Linked DNA regions of Homo sapiens: region 2 is linked to region 1. Evidence: promoter capture Hi-C in human tissues and cell types (Jung and others, 2019). All regions are on one chromosome and are shown on one strand. The core of a region is centred on a gene start or on the middle of the fragment in contact, and the rest is flanking DNA. Distances in the headings are between cores, read along the strand shown.

Region 1 (5,550 bases), core at 61-2,560:
CTTCCCTGGCTCTCAGCGGCCGCTCCGCTAGCCCCATCTCAACCCCTCTCCCCTTCCCAGGCCTCTGAGGCTGTAGCCAGGCCGCGGGCCCCGCCACTAACCTGTTCTTGGCCGCCGCGGCGCGGTCGCGCTGCCGCCGGTTCTTAAACCAGTTGCCTACTTGTGTGGGAGTGAGGCCGGTGGCCTGCGCCAGTTCGCGTTTCTTGCTGGGGTTGGGGTAGGGGTCCTGTAGGTACCACTCCCGCAACAGGCTCCGAGTCCGCTCCTTGAAGCAATGCGTCTTCTGCTCGCCGTCCCAGATGGTGCGTGGCAGCGGGAACTTCTTGCGCACGCGGTACTTGTCCACCGGGCCGAGTGGGCGGCCGCGCAGCTTCTCGGCCTCCTGGTAGTGCGCCTCGAGCCACATGGCCTGCAGCTTGCCGTGAGACTCCTTGGTGAACTTGTGGTTCTCAAGGATGTGGTAGAGGTCGCGGAAGTTGCCCGTGTGGAAGGCGACCACGGCGCGCGCGCGCAGGATCGACTCGTGTTTGTTGATGGCCTCGCACGCCCCGGGGGCCACGGGCAGCGACCAGAGGAAGCGGCCCAGCCGCTCGATGTCGCCCGTCTCCTCCAGCGTCTCACAGACGCTGGCCACCTGCTCCGGCGAGAAGTTGAGGGTGGGCAGCTGGAACATGGACAACTCTTCCGGGGGGGCCCTGGAGCCGCCGCCGCCGCCGCCGCCTGCTCCGCCAGCACCGCCGCCTCCCGCACCGTTCCCGCCGCCGCTGCCGCCTCCCGCGCCGCCGCCGCCTCCCGCACCGTTCCCGCCGCCGCTACTCGCCAGAAGTATGGAGCGGTGGTGAGAATCGGCGAAGTTTGGCAACAAGAAGTGGGAGGAATAGAGGTCTAGGGGGGAGCGGAATACCATGGACTGACCTGAGAGGAGAGGAGAAAATTCAGGGAGAGGAAGAGAGAGGGGAGGAAGAGGAGGAGAGGGGCGATGAGGACCAGGAGGAGGGAGAGGAGAGGGGGGAGGAGGAGAAGGAAAGGAGGGGGGAGCAGGAGGAGGAGGGAGAGGAGGAAGGGCGTAAGGGACACCCACACCCCACACACATCCACACACACACACACCCGCGCAGCCACATAGAGAGGGAGGTAGGAGAGCGGCCCGGTGCGCGCGCGCAGAGAGAGAACCCGAGACAGAGAGGGAGAGGGAGAGGGAGAGAGGAGAGGGAGAGCCAACCACCGCCGAGTCAAGATTCAGCGATTCCACCGCAATCGCCCTAATGACAACAGCCTCATAATATCTCCCCTAAATCCACAGTGAGTGCAGCATTGAAACATTTTGTTTCGCTTTTCTATTGGTCTGTGGCGTGTCGTTGTGGCGTTGCCACGGCAACCACTGCCAATCACTGTCAGCCCTGCCAATCAATACCGAGAACGTAAGGACGGTTTTACCACTTAGCCAGAGGGCGGGGGGAGGGGGAGAGCAGGGAAGGAGGGAGAAGTGGGGGGATAAAGAGAATTTTTTTTATCTTTGCAACTCTTAATCTCGCTACCTCCCCCTCCTCTCTTCTCTCTTCTCCCTCTCTCTCCTCTTTTCTCTACCGCTGTCTCTGAGACTTCTTCTTCCCTTTTTCCTAAAGAAGTTGATCCAGAAATTCGAAAAGCCCTGGGCAGAGTTGTTGAATGGGATGTGCAATTAGAGAGGGGATTTTGTTGGGAGGCAAGAGGGTCCCCCAGGCTCCACATAGTCCAGGTCGGCAGGCAAGGAAAGACGGCTGACCAGCCCAGCGGGCGCGGTTTGCACATGGTTTGCACGTCGGGCCGCCTCTTTCTGCCTATGTGAGCACTAATAGTGGCAAGGAAGAAAGGAGAGATGAGATCATGGGGCCCACCAAGCACCGACCTTGGCCCAGCGGGCCGTGGCGCCAGCCGGGGATCCCGGATTCCGAGGGTATCTGGCGCCAGGGAGCCTGAGCCCAATTCCCAGGGTGCTGGAGGCCGCTCTTGCCTCCCCCATCGGTGCCCATGGACCGCATTCACCTCAACTCCCTCTTCATCAATTAGGCTTCTCTTTACTCCCTCCCCGGCCAAGGAGCCTCGATTTCCCCCACCACCCTGTATTTTAAAATAACAGTCCAAACAGTACACTTCTTTCCATCTTAAGAAGCAACTCAACTCTTTGTTTCTTCCCAGAATTCAGCTGCCTCTCTGAGGAGTGGTGGAGGAGCTGCGGGAGCCGAGAAGCCCAAGAGCCCTCTGGACCCAGAAAAGTCCTACAGATGCCCACTCCTCACCACACAACAGAAGGAGCTCTGGTCCTGCCTGCCAGCCCCAGAGGGCACTCAAACTTTGGAGGCCAGCCACCCGGATGAAGTGAATAAGGCCTGAAAATTGCTTGTTTGCTCGTATTGTAAAATAATAATAATTACCATTATTATTTTTAAACTGTCTAATTTCTCTAGGGAAAGTAACATCGAAAGCCTAAAACAGACGCCAAAAGGCCCATAGAACACAGAGGGCCCTCTCTGCCTCTGGCCACCACAGCCCCTAGGCCAGGCATGGGTATTTATTCTTAGGTATGTTGCTTTTAAGAAGCTGTAATCAGCATCTTGAGCCGGGCCTCCCTTTGTGAGGCTTCTGTAACTATGGAAGTGTGATTTACGCAGATTTGTCGGGGTCAGAGACGTCTTTCCCTGAGCACTGTGTATATTTAGACAGGACTCGGTTTGGTGTTAAAAAGTGTATATGTTGAATGGATTCACACACAGTAGCCAACAATGACCACATTGTCGGCCCGTGTACAACGCGTATTGAAACGCAGCGCCCAGACTTCAACTAATCTGCCCTCAATAAAGCTGAAATAATTATCCTAAGCTGCCTTTCCAGAAGAAAAATCATTGAGGAATTCAAAACTTTTTTTTTTTTTTTTTAAAGATCTTTTCTGCATTCCGATGCAGATCTGGGGGCAAGGCGCCGTGTCCACACCACTTTGGTGATCTCAATGAGGGAAGAGAGAAAGAGAGGTTGAGAGAGAATTTAAATGGGAAACCTAACGTGACTGGGGCTGTGAGTGTCCCAGCCCCTAAACCCCGAGCTGGAGCCCTGCTTAGGCCTTGACTCCCGCAGTGCCAGGCCTCTGAGGGCCGGGGAGAAGAGCAAGCCGACAAGTGCAAGCCTCCTTGGAGGATTCCGGGCGGCAGGGAGGCCCTGGGTCCGGCGAGGGGCCAATACTGGCTCACTTAGCCAGAGACAGCCGTGGGGTAGCAGGTCTTCAACACGACGACTGGGGCAGAAAAATATTCCTCCAAAGGGAAGACCTGCCAAGCCCCATTTCAGTGCTCTCTCCACTCCATATATATTTCCTCTCCTCCTGGCCATGAGTCCTTCTCCACGCAGCTGAAAGCTCTGGGCGGTCATTCACTGAGGGCCCAGAAAGAGCCCAAAGGTTGGGACACAAAAACAGACACTTCATGTTTTCTTCCCGATCCCTTTCTCTCGTAGGGGAAGGATTATAGGCTGAAGGGTGGGAGGGGGAAGGGGCAGGAGGAGGAAGCGGGGGAGGAAGGAATGAAAAAGGGGAGGGGAGTGGGTATTGTGCCGCGTGTGGGGGGAGAATTCCTACGGGTGGGTTTCCGAATATTGTGTTCAACTTTTTGAAAGCAGCTCGTGACCCCGAAACTGCATCCCCCGGAGCCGGGGACCCAGGCGCCGGGCGGGCGGGTGAACCCGGTCAGTCCCCTCCCCGTCCCCGAAACCCCCGCCTCCGGGTGGTGGCGACCTGGCCTCTCCCTGCCACTGCCCGGCCAGCCCCGGAGGGAGGCTGGGCAGGTGCTGCGGGCTCTGCCGAAAGCGCTGAAATAAAAAACCATCGCCACTCAGGGAGAACTGAGGCAAGTGGGGCTGAGACTCTGGCGACACCCCCGCCCCCCAGCCTCTGCCCCAGCGCCTGCCGCCCTGCCGCCCTGCCGCACCCCGCCTGCTTGGGTGGCGACCGCGGTTCCGGAACGCGAAGCAGGGCAGAGGGCTGCAGAGAGGCGTGTAGCTTTGTGCGCCAGGACCCGGTGGGGCAGGTGGCAGCCCCGGGCTGTCCGCGCCTCCCAGCAGAGCCGAGCTCGGCGCCGCCCACCGAGCCCACCTCGCGGTCCAGCCGCCGCCAGCGCCTTTCGGCTCTGGCCTGAAGCAGTACTCCCGCCTCCTGGAGCGGGTAAGTTGAGAGTCCGGAGAGCAGGGCAGGGAGGCGGGGCGGCTGGTCCCAGAGCGGAGGGCCGGACTGGCTCCCCGCCGGGCTGGGGGCGCAGGCTCCATAGGATCTCAGTCGAGGGGTTCTGAGTGCGTGTTTGGGTGGGAAGCAGGGCTGTGGAGCGCCAGAGCTTCCCCTCCCAAATTCCCAGGCGCTGGGCACTGGGGAGTGGAGCAGAAGCAGAGGGACCTTGGGTTCCGGGGCCCAGCGGCCTTCCACGCTGGTCTGGGAACCAAGCAAGCCCTAGGGCAGTGCGAGGACTGGGAAGGGACCCTGGGGGACCGCTAGAGGAGGTGGCGCGTGGAGGGCGCCTGCACCCTGGGGTCGCTCAGAGCGGAGAGTCTCGGGTGGATAGGTCAGCTTGCAGATCCTCTAGGTCTCTTCTCTGCTCTCTGGCCGCTCTGATTGCGGGATCTGGGACTTGGCGCCCGTACAGGCCGGGTCACCTGTGCAGAACAAATTTGCTGCCATCATCCCCGCTTCAATCCTGGCCCCGGCGATCTAAAATATCGCCTTCAGGTGGGGCAGGGAGAAAAGATGTCTTTGGGGTTTAAATAGTGTTCTCCTTGTACCCGGACCAACTGGCATTTATTTACAAATGTCACCCGCCACCCCAGCACTGGGAAAGTCTCAACCACATCTGGAGAACGCCCGAGAGACCTCCCACTCTCTCCTTGTTTTGGGTTACAGGGAAAGCCAACGGGTCTGCAGGCCTCCGGGAGACGAGGATCCGGAGGGTTGGGGCAGCTGCACCCACTTGGCCTTGCTCAGCTCTAAACAGCCGACCAGGAGGCCGGGGGAAGGTTTGCCCTGTGGGGGCAACGCCCCTTCCGGCTCCCAGGATGTCGGGAGGCGGAGGCTGGCCGGGTGGCCCGTAGTCTGGGCCTCCCCGCAAGCTGCAAACTGAGGCGCTTGGCGCGGGCGGCCAGGGAGGGCGCAGGGGAGCGCAGCACGCAGGCGGGGAGGCCGCGAAGCCCTTCAAGGACCCCGATTACTTTCCTTTGAAAAACAACAACAACAACTGCTCCCTCCCCGCACCCCCGCCCCCCGCCTTAGCCTCCGGGGACTGGCGCTCCAAGCAATTGTCGCCCCGGACAGTAAACACAGCTCAGTTGCCTCAACTTTCTCCATGCATAAAAGTTCCTGGCGTGCGGGGAAATTTGAATATTTGATCAGCCCCTTTGAGTGACCCTCATTAGTCCGGCGCCCTGCTAAGGCCGGGCATTGCAAGAAAGCTGCTGGGCTCGGCATTTGTACGCCTTGTTAGCGCAGCTTAATGAAGCCGCCCCGACGGCTCAAAGGCGGCCTCAGGGGCCGGCGACGCG
Region 2 (5,080 bases), core at 166-2,665, 400 kb after region 1:
AGTTCCACGAGGAAGAGCAGGGTACATGTATTATGACTCATTTTGATGTTCTCAATGCCTAGTAAAGAGACAGGCTCAGAGTAGTAACTGATTTTTTAATTTAAATAAAAGATGGATATACTTGGGGACTGTAAAGGTTTACTAAGTTTTATGTTTCTCTTATTATATGTTTATTTGCTAAGTGTAGTACTTGGTCTAGCATCACTGGGAATGTTTTGGAACTCGCATTGCTAATGGTGGTTTGCAGAAGCAATCCTTTCACCTCTCCTAAGAGCAGGACACAATGTTTTCTTTAATTTTGCCCCATACCGTGACAGAGCCTTGAGGTCTATGTAAGGGAAAGCTAGCAGCTGCTAAGTTCTAATTCTGTTTATTATATCTGAATAGGTAAATGTAAGTTGGTTGTCATCTAAAGCTTGAAAGAGTTTCTGCTCTCTATGGAAAATTTGCTGTTTGGACCAGTGTATTATGTCCTCATTGATTAGCTTTTATCTAAAAAGTAAATTTCAGAAAATTAAACAAAATTATTCTTTAAAAAATTATTTATAATAACCTAGTCATCATTGGATTACATCAGATAATTCTACCTCTTAAATAAAATTTTTAAAGGAAATGTACTTACAGTTTATTTTTTCTATTCTTTAGTCTTAAAGTCTAAATTTTCCTCTGATAAGAAAAGGCAAAAAATATTAGAATCTTATAGCCTGCCCATCAAAGAATCACTCTAGTCTTGTTTTAAATGGGTTGATGAGAGAAAATGAACAGGTGCTACAGATTACTTGGCTGATCTAAAATTAAAGATTGATATTTTTCCTCTTGTTCTATTAGCAGACCTTTAGTGACATGTTAGCACTGGATAATGGTTGCAGCAGTTTAAGCCTCATGCTGTGATTTTTAACAGAAAGCCTAGCTACAGCAGCAAACAATGACATCTCCCCAAAGCTAGTAACCTAATAAGGAAGCAGTTGCAGCCTTAGGCAGTTTGACTAAACAGCAAGAGAAATCTGACTTCCAATGTACTGACTCCACTTTAAAGACAATGGCCTGGCTTAATTAACACTGTATTCATTTGTAACTCAATCAATTGTAGAATTTTTGTCCTTTAACCATTGACTCTACCAGCTCAAAAAGAAAAAGAAGGCTCAAGCTGCTGGAAGTCTTGATTTGTATAAACAGGCATTTCTGAACCAGTGACAAAATAAATAACCCTTGGCATTAATTGCTAACTTTCCCAAATGTCCAGGTAATCACTGAAATAATCATTGACACAGGAAAAGAATTTCATTGACTATTTTAGGTATAAACATGGGATGTATTTAACATAATACCAAAATTTAAATGTTTTTCTCATACTCCTCTTTTGGGGAGCACTAAATTAAGAACATTAAGCCTACTCAAAAACGTCTTTTTCAAATTATTTTTCCAAGAGTAGTATAGTAGATTTTTGTCCAGAAAGTGTATGGAATCTCATAAACTTCATTTGACCTATCTTAGCCCCTGAGCTTTGGTTAAACCAATATTTGCTACCTTCTGAACAGAAACTAAAATAAATGCTAACTCGACCAGGTTATCCTACATTAACTTTGATTTTCTAAATACATCTGTCAACAGACAATGAAAGTTAAATAGATAAATGCTACTAAAATAGTATTCTGGCTTTCATAAGTGAGGATACAATTTCCAGAGAAATAAAATACATGATTACTACATTACATCAACTATGTTGTGTAAAAATTTGGTATTTTCTAATTTTCTATCTTGTAAAACCAACCACCTAGCTTTCCTGAAAATCCTTGCATTCTCAAAAATTATGCACCAAAAAATAATAATATGGCTTATAAGAAAAATAGGGTTGGGTTGGACCACTCAAAACTCTACCCGGCACATAAAGAAAAATAATAACAATACTAATAAAAATACTAGCATAGTTAATCTCAGCTGATGTTTACATTCAGCACCACAGTCAGTTCTTTGTAGCCTTAATCCTGGGGGCTCATTCTTCCTCCTTCTAGATATAGGTCCCACAGGGCATTTGATTCTAAAGAGACTATTTTATATTAAAATTAAAAGCATAACTAATCCAGAACAGAGCTCTCTTTATTAATTCATTGCTTTAATACAGGGAAATGTCTTTGCATCCTTTTCATTTGTGCTGGTGGCTACACTTACACGGCAGAAATCATACTGGAAGAAATAGAGGCTCTAAAAGGCACTAAATGAGCCACTATTTACACTAAAAGAAGGCACTTCTGTAGATTCTCAGCTTTTCTCTTAAGGTCTTCAGTAAGTAATGAGATTTCTCTTTAATTGGGAGAAAGTGTGCCCCAGTTGCTTCAAAGCATTAATTTAAAAAGCAGGAAAATCACATATAAATGAACATAATTTCCAGGTTATTCCTACTTTATTCCCCTAGTTAAAGATACTAGTAAACGATAATTTGCATCTAAGAAGCTATATGATACTTAAACTCGGTTCTCTATTTTAATAAGTAAGTATAACTGTTAAAAGCTTAATAATAGTGAGGAATGGAGGATGAAGGGAAGTAAAGTCTAAGCTCTCTAACCTGACACCCAGGATCTCCCGCCATCTGACCTAAATTAGTCTAGGTTTCCAGTTTTATCTCCCACACACAGCTCACCAGATGAAGCCATTCTGGGATGATCTTTTATCTGGTCTCTGTCTTAAGTACCCCATAACTGCTATCCTGAGACCCCAGTTTCTCGGAATACTGTCCCTGCTTCTAGGCCTGACAGTGGTTCTGCCTCTTCCAGGAAACCTCCCCTCTCCCTCTTCCTTCTTTCTCTGACCTCTTCTTATCTTGCAACTAACTCATTTAGATCTTTCTATATAATGCCTTGAATTGCCAGCCAAGTTTCTTTACACATGTATAGAAATATATACATATATGGAGAGAGAAAGAGAGAGAGAGAGAGAGAGTGTGTGTGTGTGTGTGTGTGTGTGTGTGTGTGTGTGTGTGTATGTGTATGTGTCTTACCTCCTGAGTTAGACTCTAAGCAACTTGAGTGGAGGTCTTTGCTGTCAGCATCTTCTATTTTTTTTGTTGCAACACCCAAATGCCTAGCAGTGTTTATGCATGGAAATATCTCAGTAAGTACTGGTTTGAGAATTTTCCAGTTGATTTTTGGGGGCCCTATATGGAAAACATTTATTTGTACAATGACAACTCTATGCTTGCTGCATAAACTCCAAATGACTTGAAAGAAATTATGTGCCTCCTTAAGCACCAAACAGTATCTGAAAATAATTTATGTTCACAGGGGAAGACTTAGATTTGAGCTGACTATACTGTTAGAGACAAAGATATGGCCTTTTTTTTTTTTTTTTGAGACAGAGTTTCACTCTTGTTGCCCAGGCTGGAGTGCAATGGCACGATCTCGGCTCACCGCAACCTCCGCCTCCCGGTTTCAAGCGATTCTCCTGCCTCAGCCTCCCAAGTAGCTGGGATTTACAGGCGCGTGCCACCATGCCCGGTTTAATTTGTATTTTTAGTAGAGACAGGGTTTCTCCATGTTGGTCAAGTTGGTCTCAAACTCCTGACTGCAGGTGATCTGCCTGCCTCAGCCTCCCAAATGCTGAGATTATAGGCGTGAGCCATCGTGCCCGGCCGATATGGCTGTTTTTACAGCTTTTCTGAAGTAATAGTCTTAGTAAAAATATATATGTATCCTTTTTTTTTTTTTTTTGAGACAGAGTTTCACTCTGCCACCCAAGCTGGTGTTCAGTGGCACACTCATGGCTCACTGCAGCCTCAACCTCCTGGGACCCAGTGATCCTCTTACCTCAGCCTCCCAAGCAGCTGGGACTACAAGGATGCACCACTATGCGCAGCTAATTTTTGTATTTTTTGTCAAGATGGGATTTCACCATGTTACCCAGGCATATATATATGTATCCTTCAACAGTAAAAATTCAGTGAGGTAGCAGGATATAAAATTATATTCAGAAACTGATAGCCTTCAAATACTGTACATACATAATAACCGGAAAACTTCCTTTTAATAGCAACAAAGATAATAAAATATAGATAAACATAAAAAGAAATGGCAAAACCTAAGTGAGGAAAATTTTTAAAGACTTCTGAAAGCCCCAAGAGTAGACTTGAACAAATGGAAAGACATCTCCTACTATAAGACAGAATGACTCAACAGCATAAAGATGTCTATTCTCTCTAAGCTAATTTATAAATTCAATGCAATCTCAATAAAAATATCACTTTTTTTAAAATGGAACTAAGTTGGTACTAAAGTTCATATGAAACAACAACATGCAAGTTTAGTCAGGAAAATACTGATAATGAAAACCTATGAGATGGGACTAGCCATACTGTCATTAAAACATTAAGCTTCTATAACTAAAACATTGTGATACTGGCACACAAATAGACTGACCAATAGAATAGAACAAAAGGTACAGAAATATACCCATGTACATATAGAAATTAGTATATAATAAAATGACATGTCAAATCATTGAGACAAAGATGAACTTTTTGGTAAATGATGCTAGGATAATTGCTGAGCCATTTGGAAAAAATGTAATTAGACACATATCTTACATCATGCATAAGAATAAACTTCAAATGGATCACAGATCCACATATATAAATATAAATTTTTTTAGCTTTGTCCCCTCTGGGGGCCTAAAAGCAATTACATCTCAGTAACAATGAGTATATCTAGAACCCATATCTGAGTTTCTTTTTTGAGATAGGGTCTTGCTGTGTTGCCCAGGCTGGAGTGCAGTGGCACAATGACAGCTCACTGCAGCCTTGCCCTTCCAGGGTCCAGCGTTCCTCCCACCTCAGCCTCCCAAGTAGCTGGGACTACAGGCATGTACCACCATGTCCGGCTAATTTTTGTGTTTTGTTTAGAGATGAGGTTTTGCCATGTTGCCCAGGCTGGTCTTGAACGCCTGAACTCAAGGGATCCGCACACCTCGGCCTCCCAAAGTGCTGGGATTACAGGCATGAGCCACTGGCCTGGCCTCGTATCTGAGTTTTTAAATAACACTTTCCACTAAAAAGAATCAATGTTCCCTGGAGGACTCACTGGTTCCATGG

Evidence for each region. Contacts are between HindIII fragments. The study calls those that stand out against the background at their distance.
Region 2: a contact is called between a fragment that was not itself captured here and the fragment with the promoter of SIX3 in region 1, in 1 of the 25 tissues and cell types used here (H1 embryonic stem cells).

What each region holds. Positions count from the first base shown.
Region 1 is chr2:44,937,462-44,943,011 of GRCh38, reverse strand. SIX3 (SIX homeobox 3) reads right to left here and starts at 1,310. Exons shown (of 2, transcript NM_005413.4): 1 at 102-1,310. The coding sequence starts at 907. SIX3-AS1 (SIX3 antisense RNA 1) reads left to right here and starts at 1,134. Exons shown (of 2, transcript NR_103786.1): 1 at 1,134-1,302; 2 at 2,179-2,858. It overlaps LINC01833 (long intergenic non-protein coding RNA 1833), which reads left to right and starts at 3,813. Exons shown (of 2, transcript NR_147195.1): 1 at 3,813-4,189. RefSeq lists enhancers at 1-267, 1,350-1,876, 2,645-3,144, 3,145-3,646, 5,065-5,550 and silencers at 3,988-4,117, 5,112-5,191. The HindIII fragment of the contact is 28,963 bases long and covers 1-5,550 here.
Region 2 is chr2:44,540,395-44,545,474 of GRCh38, reverse strand. The region is part of intron 3 of CAMKMT (calmodulin-lysine N-methyltransferase); the gene reads right to left. Among named protein-coding and RNA genes, the nearest start is that of CAMKMT, 180 kb to the right of the region's middle. RefSeq lists an enhancer at 641-1,419. The HindIII fragment of the contact is 4,043 bases long and covers 1-3,436 here.